Regions from separate parts of the Homo sapiens genome. Here all the other regions are linked to region 4. The links are contacts of gene promoters, found by promoter capture Hi-C in human tissues and cell types (Jung and others, 2019). All regions are on one chromosome and are shown on one strand. Each heading gives the region's core, a stretch centred on a gene start or on the middle of the fragment in contact. The rest is flanking DNA. Distances are from core to core; before and after follow the strand shown.

The links. Contacts are between HindIII fragments. The study calls those that stand out against the background at their distance.
Region 1: a contact is called between the fragment with the promoter of ZNF441 here and the fragment with the promoter of RNASEH2A in region 4, in 1 of the 25 tissues and cell types used here (small bowel).
Region 2: a contact is called between the fragment with the promoter of ZNF653 here and the fragment with the promoter of RNASEH2A in region 4, in 1 of the 25 tissues and cell types used here (dorsolateral prefrontal cortex).
Region 3: a contact is called between the fragment with the promoter of ZNF491 here and the fragment with the promoter of RNASEH2A in region 4, in 1 of the 25 tissues and cell types used here (lymphoblastoid cells).

What each region holds. Positions count from the first base shown.
Region 1 is chr19:11,765,739-11,768,438 of GRCh38, forward strand. It overlaps ZNF441 (zinc finger protein 441), which reads left to right and starts at 1,262. Exons shown (of 4, transcript NM_152355.3): 1 at 1,262-1,458. The coding sequence starts at 1,456. RefSeq lists an enhancer at 1,423-1,522 and silencers at 1,593-1,732, 2,183-2,292. The HindIII fragment of the contact is 15,674 bases long and covers 1-2,700 here.
Region 2 is chr19:11,504,500-11,507,199 of GRCh38, forward strand. It overlaps ZNF653 (zinc finger protein 653), which reads right to left and starts at 1,340. Exons shown (of 9, transcript NM_138783.4): 1 at 989-1,340. The coding sequence starts at 1,287. It overlaps ECSIT (ECSIT signaling integrator), which reads right to left. Exons shown (of 8, transcript NM_016581.5): 8 at 1,430-1,929. The coding sequence ends at 1,685. RefSeq lists an enhancer at 436-505 and silencers at 656-1,325, 1,486-1,535. The HindIII fragment of the contact is 10,042 bases long and covers 1-2,700 here.
Region 3 is chr19:11,797,209-11,799,908 of GRCh38, forward strand. It overlaps ZNF491 (zinc finger protein 491), which reads left to right and starts at 1,315. Exons shown (of 3, transcript NM_152356.4): 1 at 1,315-1,519. RefSeq lists a silencer at 307-476 and enhancers at 570-1,081, 1,307-1,406, 1,417-1,576. The HindIII fragment of the contact is 4,685 bases long and covers 1-2,700 here.
Region 4 is chr19:12,805,205-12,807,904 of GRCh38, forward strand. It overlaps RNASEH2A (ribonuclease H2 subunit A), which reads left to right and starts at 1,380. Exons shown (of 8, transcript NM_006397.3): 1 at 1,380-1,596; 2 at 1,804-1,875; 3 at 2,002-2,125; 4 at 2,215-2,302. The coding sequence starts at 1,470. RefSeq lists a cis regulatory region at 627-1,659 and enhancers at 1,104-1,233, 1,434-1,483. The HindIII fragment of the contact is 8,217 bases long and covers 1-2,700 here.

The sequences.
Region 1 (2,700 bases), core at 12-2,511, 1.0 Mb before region 4:
GGCCGGTCTTGAGCTCCTGAGCTCAAGCAATCCACCCACCTCAGCCTCCCAAAGTGGTGGGATTGCAGGCATGAGCCACGGTGCCTGGCCTCATAATGCTTTTATATCTGGTATTCTTCATAAAAATATGAAGATGAATGTTTTCAAATTCAAAGTCTAATGTCTCAGCCTTTGATTGAAGCATTTAATTCAATAACATTTATAGGCTTGATGGAAGGAGCATTTCCACGCTGTGTTTAGGAGACAGGAGGGCAAATTGAACTCCCAGAGTTAAATCCATTAGTGCCCCTGACTCATCCCCAGGTTCTGATCCACCCTAGGGCTCCATTTCAGGAATTATCGTCTGGCCTCCAAGCTTTGGAATATGTTTGGCCTCCTGAAAGTGGTTGACTTGTGAACTGTGTGTGGATGCAGCAGGCTGCTTATCTGAGCTAGTTCAAGTTTTTGCTTTATAAAATATTGCCGCCATATAATTCCAGTTTTTCCACACATTTAACAATTTTATTTATTTCTTTTTTCTTTTTTCTTTTTTTTTTTTTTTGAGACGGAGTCTCCCTCTGTCTCGCCCACTCTCTCACTGCAGCCTCTGCCTTCCAGGTTCAAGTGATTCCTCTGTCTCAGCCTCCTGAGTAGCTGGGACTACAGGCGTGCGCCACCACATCCGGCTAATCTTTGTATTTTAGAGACGGGATTTCACCATGTTGGCCAGACTGGTCTCGAATTTCTGACCTCAGGTGATCCACCTGCCTCAGCCTCCCAAAGTGCTGGGATTACAGGTGTGAGCCACCACGCCCGGCTTTGTTGGGGTGTTTTTATATTCTGCACTGAAAATTAGTAGATTGAGACATAAGGTGGGAGAAAGGCTTGGCCTGTGCAGCCAACAGCCTCATCCAAAACTCCTGATTCCTGGAGGACATCAGCCCCTCCCTTCTGCTGCAGTGTGGCCTGGGCTCCCTTCCTGCTCTCAAATCAGGGGATAGCTCCACTGGACAGTGAGTCTGGAATTTCCTGCACAGACTTGTGGGTCCCTGTCCAAGAGGAAAAAGGAGGAAGGTCAGGACATACTGCCTAAATGCAAATGTCCCCTGGGAGGGGGTCAGGTCACAGCGCAGGGAGGAAGCTAGTCCTCTCAAGGCCTGTCTGGAATCTGTTTATCAGGTTCCACTCCGCTGCCCGAGATCGCTTCTTCCGTTACTCAGTGCCCGGGGGAGGGACCTGGCGCACTATCCAATCAGGGCCGCGGGGCGGGGTCGTGAGAACTGTCAATCAGGCGCACTGACCGGAGGAGGGTGCAAGGTTCAAAGAGCCCGCCGAGTCTTCTCCACGCCCCTGCACTGGGCTCCGGGTTCTGTCACTGAGAGACGCCCTGGAACGTCTGTGGCAGCTTCTGTCTCGCTGGGACCCGCACTGACAGCGGGAGGCAGAGGGAGGAACCTGGACGCCGGAAGCCGGGAAATGGTGAGTGTGTGAGGTCTGGTGTCCCGACGCGTGAGAGGAGAGACTGGTTGGAACCGGCCGGAACCGGCTGTGGTGGCACCAGGTCTTCCCCGCCGGCGACACCCTGGCGCAGCTCGGCCCTCGGTTCCCTCGGCCGCACGATGGGGCTGGGGCGGCAGCCGGGACCCCGGGCGTCCTGTCCCGTCCCTGCGCGGCCACTGCGGCCCTGGCCCTGGAGGCCTGTCTGGGCAGCTCCGCGCCCGCAGTCCTGCGTCTCCCCAGATTGTGCGGCTGTAACCGGCACAGGTTCGCGGCCCGAGTCACTGCACCGAGACGCCGAGGGCTGCAGCAGAAACAGTTTAATAGGGGGAGAGGGGAGGACACCCCAGATCCGCCTTCCTGAGAGGTTTGGGGATGGGGTGTTTAGGGGTGTGGACAGGGGCGGCTGGGGCGTGGGGTCGCTGGATGGTGGGGAAGTGAGGGGTGACTCTTGGGACTGGAGGTGAAGAAACCGCATTCTTCTGCTGAGTGGGTTCCCTTGTGGGGTCTTCAGCCTGGTTGGCGCCAGCCTTTCCGCTGGAATTCAGGATCTGAGAAAGAACTCAGGCGACTCTTGAGCAACTCTCAGAGATCTCATCCCCAAGCACAATGGCGAAGCCGGCGGTCAGCATCTGCTGTGGCCTGACTCTTGGGGAGGCGGCCCCGCGAGGCAGCGGGGCTGAGGGCACCTGGTTAATATCTAACTGCAATCTCGCCTCCAGCCTGGCTCGCAGTTCTGTGAACCCGGTGAGGAGGCTGCACGGTGATGACAGGTCACCAGGCAGACTCGTGTGTGGGGTTTGTGTGTGGGAGGAGTTGTGGTCTGTGTGGTCCCCTGTCCCTTCTTTCTTCCCAAGGGTGACCCGTTCGCCTTCGAGTCTTCCAAAGATGTGGGCAGCAGGGTCTCAAGTCCACCACTGTGTTCTCTCATCCTAACTCCTCCTAGGGCCGACAGAAAATCCCTTGGCTTCCAGAGCCTTCCTCAGGCTTTCTCTCCTCAATTCACAGCAACTTTATGAACTCCTTGTCCCCCAGTTTATTTTTCAAACAGAGGCTAGTATTTTAATTGTCATTTTGTTTATACATAGCAATATATGGCTCTTTGTAAAAGGTTTTGTGTTTGTGAACATTTCACATGAGAGGAAGCAGAGAAAAACCACCAGACATTTCGCTGTAAAAAAAATGAATATTAATAAATAAAATCTTTGTTACTGTCCTCCCTTC
Region 2 (2,700 bases), core at 90-2,589, 1.3 Mb before region 4:
GTATCTTTGCGCTCCCAGCATTTCCAGTCCTGCTCTTGAGCATATAAGCCAGCCTGCTGTCCTGGGAAAGGGGTGGGTATAACTTAGCAGGATCTGTTTGATTCTTGACTCTCAGAATCTCCCCCCAGAGAAACATGAGAACATGTGTACCTGAAAACCAGGGCAGAACAAGGATTTCCTTGCGGCACTGCTTGTGATACGGAATAAACGTCATCCTCGTAAAAGTTAATACTTAGGGAACCCACTACCTGCCAGGCACTCTTCTAAGCTCTTTGCCTATTTTAACTCAATCATCACATCAACATATAAGGCAGGAAGGGAAAAACTCCATCCACACTGCTCCTTCTCAAGACTGAGAATTTACAAAGACAGGCCTCTCTGCCCTCCACCTGCCAAGCTAACTAGGGGTTTCCTCTTCATCCGAGTCTCCCTGGGCTGAGTTGCTTCACAGAAATAGGTTTAGGGGAGTGCAGTCCAGGTTGTGAAGGGTCCCCCGGATGTGTTGGATCTAGGGTTGTGGGAATGGGGCCATACGGAGTCCCAGATGGGGCACCAGAACTTCAAGAAGGGCAGGGCTGAGTGCCCCAGGGTGTCCAGAGTCCCAGGCCAGGTGGGGAACTAAGCGGGGGAGGATGAGACCGGTGAGGGGGCGGGGCTGCCCCCCCAGGGCCTGGTTAGTTACAAGGCCTGGAGGTGGGGCCAGTCCCAGGATTGGGCCGCCAGAGTTCTAGCGGGCGGGGCCAAGCGCTCAGAAGGCGGGTCGAGGGGCTGGGTGCACCCTAGGATTGGGCAGTCGGAACGATGGGAGGCGGGGCCACGAGCCAGGCGCGTCCCGGCCAGGCAGTACGAGACCCAGGCCGCCGGCCCGGCTCCTGGGCGGGGTCCGCAGGTGCCGGGGGCTGGCCCTAGAAGCGGAGGGGGCGGGGTAAAGCCCGGCGGGGTCTGGGGGCGTCTCCTCCCTCCCTCCCTCGGGGCCAGGCCCCCTCACCCGTGGCGGCCGCTCCGCTGGCCGCGCTCCAGAGAGATGAGGTAGGCGGCGAGCTTGGCGTCGCTCCAGCCGCTGCGGCGCCGCAGGTCCACCCAGGGCCCGTGCGCCTCGCCCAGGTACACGCGCCGCACGTCGTACTTCTTCCGGGACTCGAGCCGTCGCCGGGCCCGGTCCGACTCCGTGAGTCGCGGCCGGCCCCGCGCCTTTCGGCCCGCTGCGCCCTCCTCGGCTGCTGCCTCCCCGCCCGCGCCCGCCTCAGCCTCCGCCTCCGCCTCGGGCTCTAGCGCCCGCTCCGCCATCCCCCCCACCCTGGTTACCAGCCTCCCCCGTTGTTAGGAGCCAGACCGGAAGTGGCGCGCATCTTCGGCGCCGCCGAGAAATTTCTCACGGTCTCTCGCTGCCCCAGGGCGCCAAAAGGAGACCAAGAATGGAAACTGCGCATGCGCACAACCAACAGCGCTCCCGCCCCTTTTTATTTGAATTCGGAGAACCAGAGGCGCCTGCAGATTCTGGAGGGGTCTCGCCTGCCCATCGCTGGCAGCCCGAGATCCTGGGGAGGGGATGCCATACTGCTAGAGATGAGGGAAGAGAGCCCCAAGCAGGAAAACATTGATTTGCTGTACACTCAAAGGGCATCTCATGCCTTCAGTCCACCGCCTCCTCGGGCCACAGCCCGTGCCCTCGCGCCGGCTCAGACTAGCTCTGGCCCTGCTGCTGTCGCTGCAGGTTGTCGTCTTCTTCCTGGTGGTCCTCGGGCAGGGGCGGCTCCTCCAGCCCTGCAGAGGATGTCTGGAGCTCCCGGGTGGACCCGGCGAGGCGGAAGACCACGGGGATCTGGGCCAGGGTTGGGTTGGTCTCCTGCAGGCCCTGGATCCACTTAGCCATCGTCGCCTGGTCATGAGCACCCGCCATGCACATGGCGAAGACAGGGCCTTCCTCCACTGTTGGAAGACATGCACCCTTAAGGTTTGCACAGTGGGGGCTGCAGCGGCTAACCCATGCCTACACCTTTTTGAGGTATTTTACACTCCCTTCCACTTCCTTTTTTTTTTTTTTTTTTTTTTTGAGACGGAGTCTCGCTGTGTCACCCAGGCTGGAGTGCAGTGGCGAGATCTCGGCTCACTGCAACATCCGCCTCCCAGGTTCAAGTGATTCTCCTGCCTCGGCCTCCCGAGGAGCTGGGATTACAGGTGCACAGCACCACGCCGGGCTAATTTTTAAATTTTTAGTAGAGATGGGGTTTCACCATGTTGGCCAGGCTGGTCTCGAATTCCTGACCTCAAATGATCTACCCGCCTCAGCCTCCCAGAGTGCTGGGATTACAGGCGTGAGCCACTGTGCCCGGCTTCCTTCCACTTTCTTGTGCCTCCAAACCTTTGCACAAGCTAGCCCCGCTGCCTAGGCTGCCCACTCCACACTTCACCCGGGCGATGACTCCTGGTTTTTCTGTATTCTGCCAGGAAGGCCTCCTGACCCCCCACTCAAGGCATGCTCCTCTCCTAAGCTCCCCAAAGTGTAATTTGCCTGTTCCCTTGCTGACTCGAGGGACTAGGTTTGTCCTGGTGACACCCAGTAGCCAGCACAGAGTTGTAGGAGGGAGGGAATGAACAAGGGCCAACAGGGCTGGGTGACCTCAGGTCTGGAGCCCCTGGGGCAAATGAGTGTGTGCGGCCGGAGGACGAGGGTGTAAGTGGACTGCGTCTCAGCCTGGG
Region 3 (2,700 bases), core at 65-2,564, 1.0 Mb before region 4:
ACAACTATCACAACTCTTGCTGAAGCACAGTGGCGAGATCATAGGTCACTGAAGCTTCAAACTCCTGGGCTCAAGATCTTCCCACCTCAGCCTCCCGAGTAGCTGGGACTACAGGTTCAGGACACCACGCACTGCTAATTTTTAAATTTTTAGTACAGACGAGGTGTGGCTCCGTTTTCCAGGATGATGAACTCCTGGGTTCAAGCAGTCCTCCCGCTTCAGCCTCCAAAAGGGTTGGGATTATAGGCGTGAGCCCCCGCACCCTGCCTGCAAGTCTTTTAATTCACTTCAATTATCTTAGAATTTTCCTTCCCCACTTTATACATACGTACAGTGGAACTGAGGGTGTTTGTCTCAGGTAACCGATCAATGAAGTGAATAACCTGTAGGGGGCAGCAGAGCCTAAGGCCAGTGACACCCTGCTGAGGCCAGTCTGGAGCCGGCAAAGGGAGGGAAAGGGAGCTCCCCTGGGTGTTTCCCGGGCAGCCTGCCCTCTACTGCAGGTGGCCTCCAGCTGCTCAGAACAGCTGCGGAAGGAATGTGGATCCTGAGAAGCTACAGAGCCCTGGAAAGCAGGAGACTCACGTGCAGGTGCACTTTGTGTAGGGGGGTTGGGGGGAGGTTCTGTCCTTACTGGGGCTGTACCTAGAGCCTAGGGACGTTTTGCGGGGGCAGTGTTTGGTTTTTACGTGCAAAGGGTCCCGGCGACAGACTGTAATTTGTACATACAAAGATAATCTGTGAAGATCAGGCTCAGTAAGATTTGTCTGACATGTCACCTGGAGAAAGGGTTTGTGAAGGTAATAGTTTACTTAGGTTAGAAGCTTAAACTGACCCCAGGTGAGAACTTCTGCTGGTGAAAATGAAGTCTAGGGGGAGGAAGCGGTTCCATATTCAGGGGTGGGACGGGGGGAGTGTGAGGAAGTCTCATCCCCAATTCCCGCCCTGTAGAGGACACCTGCCTCTCCCTCCTGGTGCAGTCTTGCCTGGCCTGGCCTGGCCTGGATTTCCTTCCTGCTATGAGGCAAAGGAATGACTCCATTGAACACCGAGTCTGGAATTCCCAGCACACATTTCTGAAAGATCGAGGAAGCTAACAGTGCCCCTTCTAACAATAAGTAGCAAGTTTGGCTGAAATGCAGATAGCCAACGACCAGGGCGCAGGGAGTGAGCTTAGCCTTAGAAAGGCTGTAGCTAGGATTAATCAGCCGGGCTCTGCAGGGCTCCGTTACCCAGGGCTTACCCTGTCACTCAGGGCTGAGGGGCGGAGCCTGGAACCCCATCCAATCAGGGGCCCTGGGACGGGGCCCTGCCAACTGTCAATCCGGGGAAGCAGAAGGCCGCACTCAGAGTCTCTGCACTCCTTTGTTGCTGGGGTCCGTTGCGTTCTGCATCCAGTCCTTGCTGCTCCGAGAGGCCCCAGGTGCCTCCGCCACGGCTCCTGTGACGCTGTCACCTGCGCTGTGACCTGCTCCGGAGTCATAAAGAGGACGCCGGGACACCAAGAAGCAGGGAAATGGTAAAGTGCCCGGCCTAGCGTCCAGATACGTGGAAGAGGGGCTGGGTGGAACCAACAGGATCCTGCTGTGGCGGGACCCAGGCCTCCGCTCGGGCGACCCCGGCGATTGGGACCCGCGTCCCCCATGGCGTGGCTTGGCCCTCGGTCCGCTCGGCCGCCAGGTGGGGCTGGGCCCGCAGCTGGGACCCCGGGCGTCCTGTCCCGTCCCTACGCGGCGACTGCGGCCCCGGCCCCGGAGTCCTCTCTGGGCAGCTCCGCGCCCGCAGCCCGGCGTCTTCCCAGATTGTGCGGGGGCCACGGGAGGGTCATGGGGGGTCGGATGTGTCCCGCCTTTCTTCTGCTAAAAATTAAACTGAGGCTCTGTTAACAGTTAAAGAGTTTGTTGGAGCAACAGCGATTCCGAGTGAGAAACACCCGGTCATGGCTTGTGATTGAAGAAAAGGCTTTTATAAGTTGCATGAGGAGGCAAACAGGATTAAATACTTGATTAGTTACAGTGATGCTGTCGCCGTATGTGGACTTGTCAACCTGAAATAAAAGAATCAGATTCCAGTTTTTTAAAGTTTACTCAAGCAAGAAGCTGGGAATGGCCCATTTGGGAAAACACAGGATCCACGGAAATGGGCTCAGTGTTTCAAATTTAAAAGTTTAAGTTCTTGCTTATATAGGCAAGAAATTTAACAGGATTACAACGTTTTTTATACAAGGCTAGTTTGTGAGGCACAACAATTTAATCAGAGTTTGGCCCGCCCCCCTCCCCCCGCCCCCATAGAGCTTTTTTTTTTTTTTCTTTACATTTGGGTTTCATTTCCTTTCCAATTTAAAAGAGTATATTTAACATTCCAGCGTAAGGCAAGGTGATGCCAGCGTGGACAACATGGCGAGACCCCGTCTGTACAAAATATTTTAAAAAATTAGTCGGGTATGGCCGGGCGCGGTGGCTCACGTCTACAATCCCAGCACTTTGGGAGGCCGAGGCGGGCGGATGACGAGGTCAGGAATTCGAGACCATCCTGGCCAACATGGTGAAACCCCGACTCTACCAAAAATACAAAAATTAGCTGGGCGTGGTGGCACGTGCCTGTAATCCGGCTACTCGGGAGGCTGAGGCAAGACAATCGCTTGAACGCAGGAGGCGGAGGTTGCGTGAGCCGAGATGGTGCCACTGCACTCCAGCCTGG
Region 4 (2,700 bases), core at 130-2,629:
ACAATGAACTAGGACCCTGAGGAAGGGGCATGAGCCTGGTAAGGGGCGGGAACCCACAGGCAGAGGACATGAGCCCCAGTGAGCCCAGGGAATAGAAGTGGTGGATGCCAGGCACTGTGGCTGGCTCAGGCTTGTAATCCCAACACTTTGGGAGGCTGAGGCGACCGGATCGCTTGAGCCCAGGAGTTTGAAGCCAGCCTGGGCAACATAATGAGACCCCGTCTCTACAAAAAATACCAAAAATAGTCGGGCATGGTGGTGTGGTGTGCACCTGTAGTCCAGCTGCTTGGGAGACTGAGGTGGGAGGATCGCGTCAGCCCAGGAGGTGGAGGTTGCAGTGAGCCAAGATCGCGCCACTGCACTCCAGCCTGGACAACAGAGAGAGACCCTGTCTAAAAAAAAAAGAAGGCCGGGTGCGGTGGCTCACGCCTGCAATCCCAACACTTTGGGAGGCCGAGGCGGGCGGATCACAAGGTCAGGAAATCGAGACCAACCTGGCTAACACGGTGAAACCCCATCTCTACTAAAAAGTACAAAAAATTAGCCGGGTGTGGTGGCGGGCGCCTGTAGTCCCAGCTATTCGGGAGACTGAGGCAGGAGAATGGCGTGAACCCGGGACGCGGAGCTTGCAGTGAGCGGAGATGGCGCCATTGCACTCCAGCCTGGGCGACAAGAGCGAGACTCTGTCTCAAAAAAAAAAAAAAGAAAAAAAAAAAGTGGGTCGAGGGGTGGGGGTGGGGACATTCATTCTAAGTTGGGAGGAATGAGCTTCTATAGGGAGCAGAGACCCTGAGCAGGAGTCCACCGAGGTCTGTGATCTCCAACGGGGGTGGGGAAGGCTTGGCCTGAATGAGACAGAGGTTAGGAAGCACAGATCTTGCACGGAGTGGAGGTGGGCCGAAGGGAGCAACCAAGAGAGGGAGTTTGGGGACTCCAAATCCAAAAGCCTGGGTTTAGTGGAAGCGGGGCTACCTGGTCCAGGGGACTTAGAATGTGTACAGAAGCAGGGACCGCAAGTACAGGGCCTGAATCCAAGTGGCAGTTGGGGACCCAGTGATGCGGTGACCCGTGTCCTGGGAGTGGGGTGATATTTGACTCTCTAGTTCCCCGTTAGGCTGGGTCTTCGAAGCTACGTCTCAGTTTCCCTCTTATTTCCCCCTCTTCCCACCGGGCCACGCAGGCGGGGCCCCAGAGACCGTGAAGCAGAGCTTGCAAAGTGACCCCGTCCACCGAATTCCCCAAGCTGAGTGTTCGGCCATAGCCCTTCGGGACTACAATTCCCAGGAGGGCGCACGGCAGCGACGTCGGCGTCGGCTGCGTAAGCGTCCACGGCGGCGGGAGCGCCAGGGGCGTGTTCTGCCCGCGGATTGGCCGGAAGCAGGCGCCGCTTCGAGGCCCGCGGAAAACGCGCGCCGAGACCCGCTCCTGCAGTATTAGTTCTTGCAGCTGGTGGTGGCGGCTGAGGCGGCATGGATCTCAGCGAGCTGGAGAGAGACAATACAGGCCGCTGTCGCCTGAGTTCGCCTGTGCCCGCGGTGTGCCGCAAGGAGCCTTGCGTCCTGGGCGTCGATGAGGCGGGCAGGGGCCCCGTGCTGGGTGCGCCCCTAGGGCCAGGGAGGGGAGGGGCGTGGTACGGAGGATGCGGGAAACGGGAGTCGGGATTGCACTGCACCAAGGGAGGGGATGTGGTCGTGGTGATGGCACCTAAAGAAGCAGTGATGATAGAACAGGGATGAATGGCAACTTTCACGGGCTCAGTGATTGGACCCCGGCTGCCAGAAAACTGACACCCCTTCTCCCCAGGCCCCATGGTCTACGCCATCTGTTATTGTCCCCTGCCTCGCCTGGCAGATCTGGAGGCGCTGAAAGTGGCAGGTGAGCCCGAGGTGTGCGTCTGGGGAAGGGATTCCTGGGTATGTGCAGGGGCAGGTGAGAACTGAAAGGGGAGGGCAGGAACTGGGAGAACCAGCTGTTCCCCTTCTCTTCCAAACCTCCTCCCAGACTCAAAGACCCTATTGGAGAGCGAGCGGGAAAGGCTGTTTGCGAAAATGGAGGACACGGACTTTGTCGGCTGGGCGCTGGATGTGCTGTCTCCAAACCTCATCTCTACCAGCATGCTTGGGCGGTGAGGGGTCCCCGGGAGGGGCAGCCAGCATGGGCTGACCAAGCTTTGTTCCTAGAATGAGATTAACTGGGCTCTGTTCCCCACCACAGGGTCAAATACAACCTGAACTCCCTGTCACATGATACAGCCACTGGGCTTATACAGTATGCATTGGACCAGGGCGTGAACGTCACCCAGGTGAGTTAACTGTAAGTTGTCCCCATTTGGTCATCTCAGGATAAAATGGGGACAAAACAGGAGTTCGAGACTGCAGTGAGCCATGATCATGCCACAGCACTCCATCCTGGGTGACAAAGGAAGCCCCCCAACTCAAAAATGGAGGCAGGGCGCAGTGGCTCACGCCTATAATCGCAGCACTTTGGGAAGCCGCGGCGGGTAGATCACCGGAGGTCAAGAGTTCGAGACCAGCCTGACCAACATGGTGAAACCCCGTCTCTACTAAAAATACAAAAATTAGCTGGACGTGGTGGCAGGCGCCTGTAATCCTAGCTACTCAGGAGGCTGAGACAGGAGAATCGCTTGAACCCAGGAGGCAGAAGTTGCAGTGAGCCAAGATTGTGCCATTGCACTCCAAC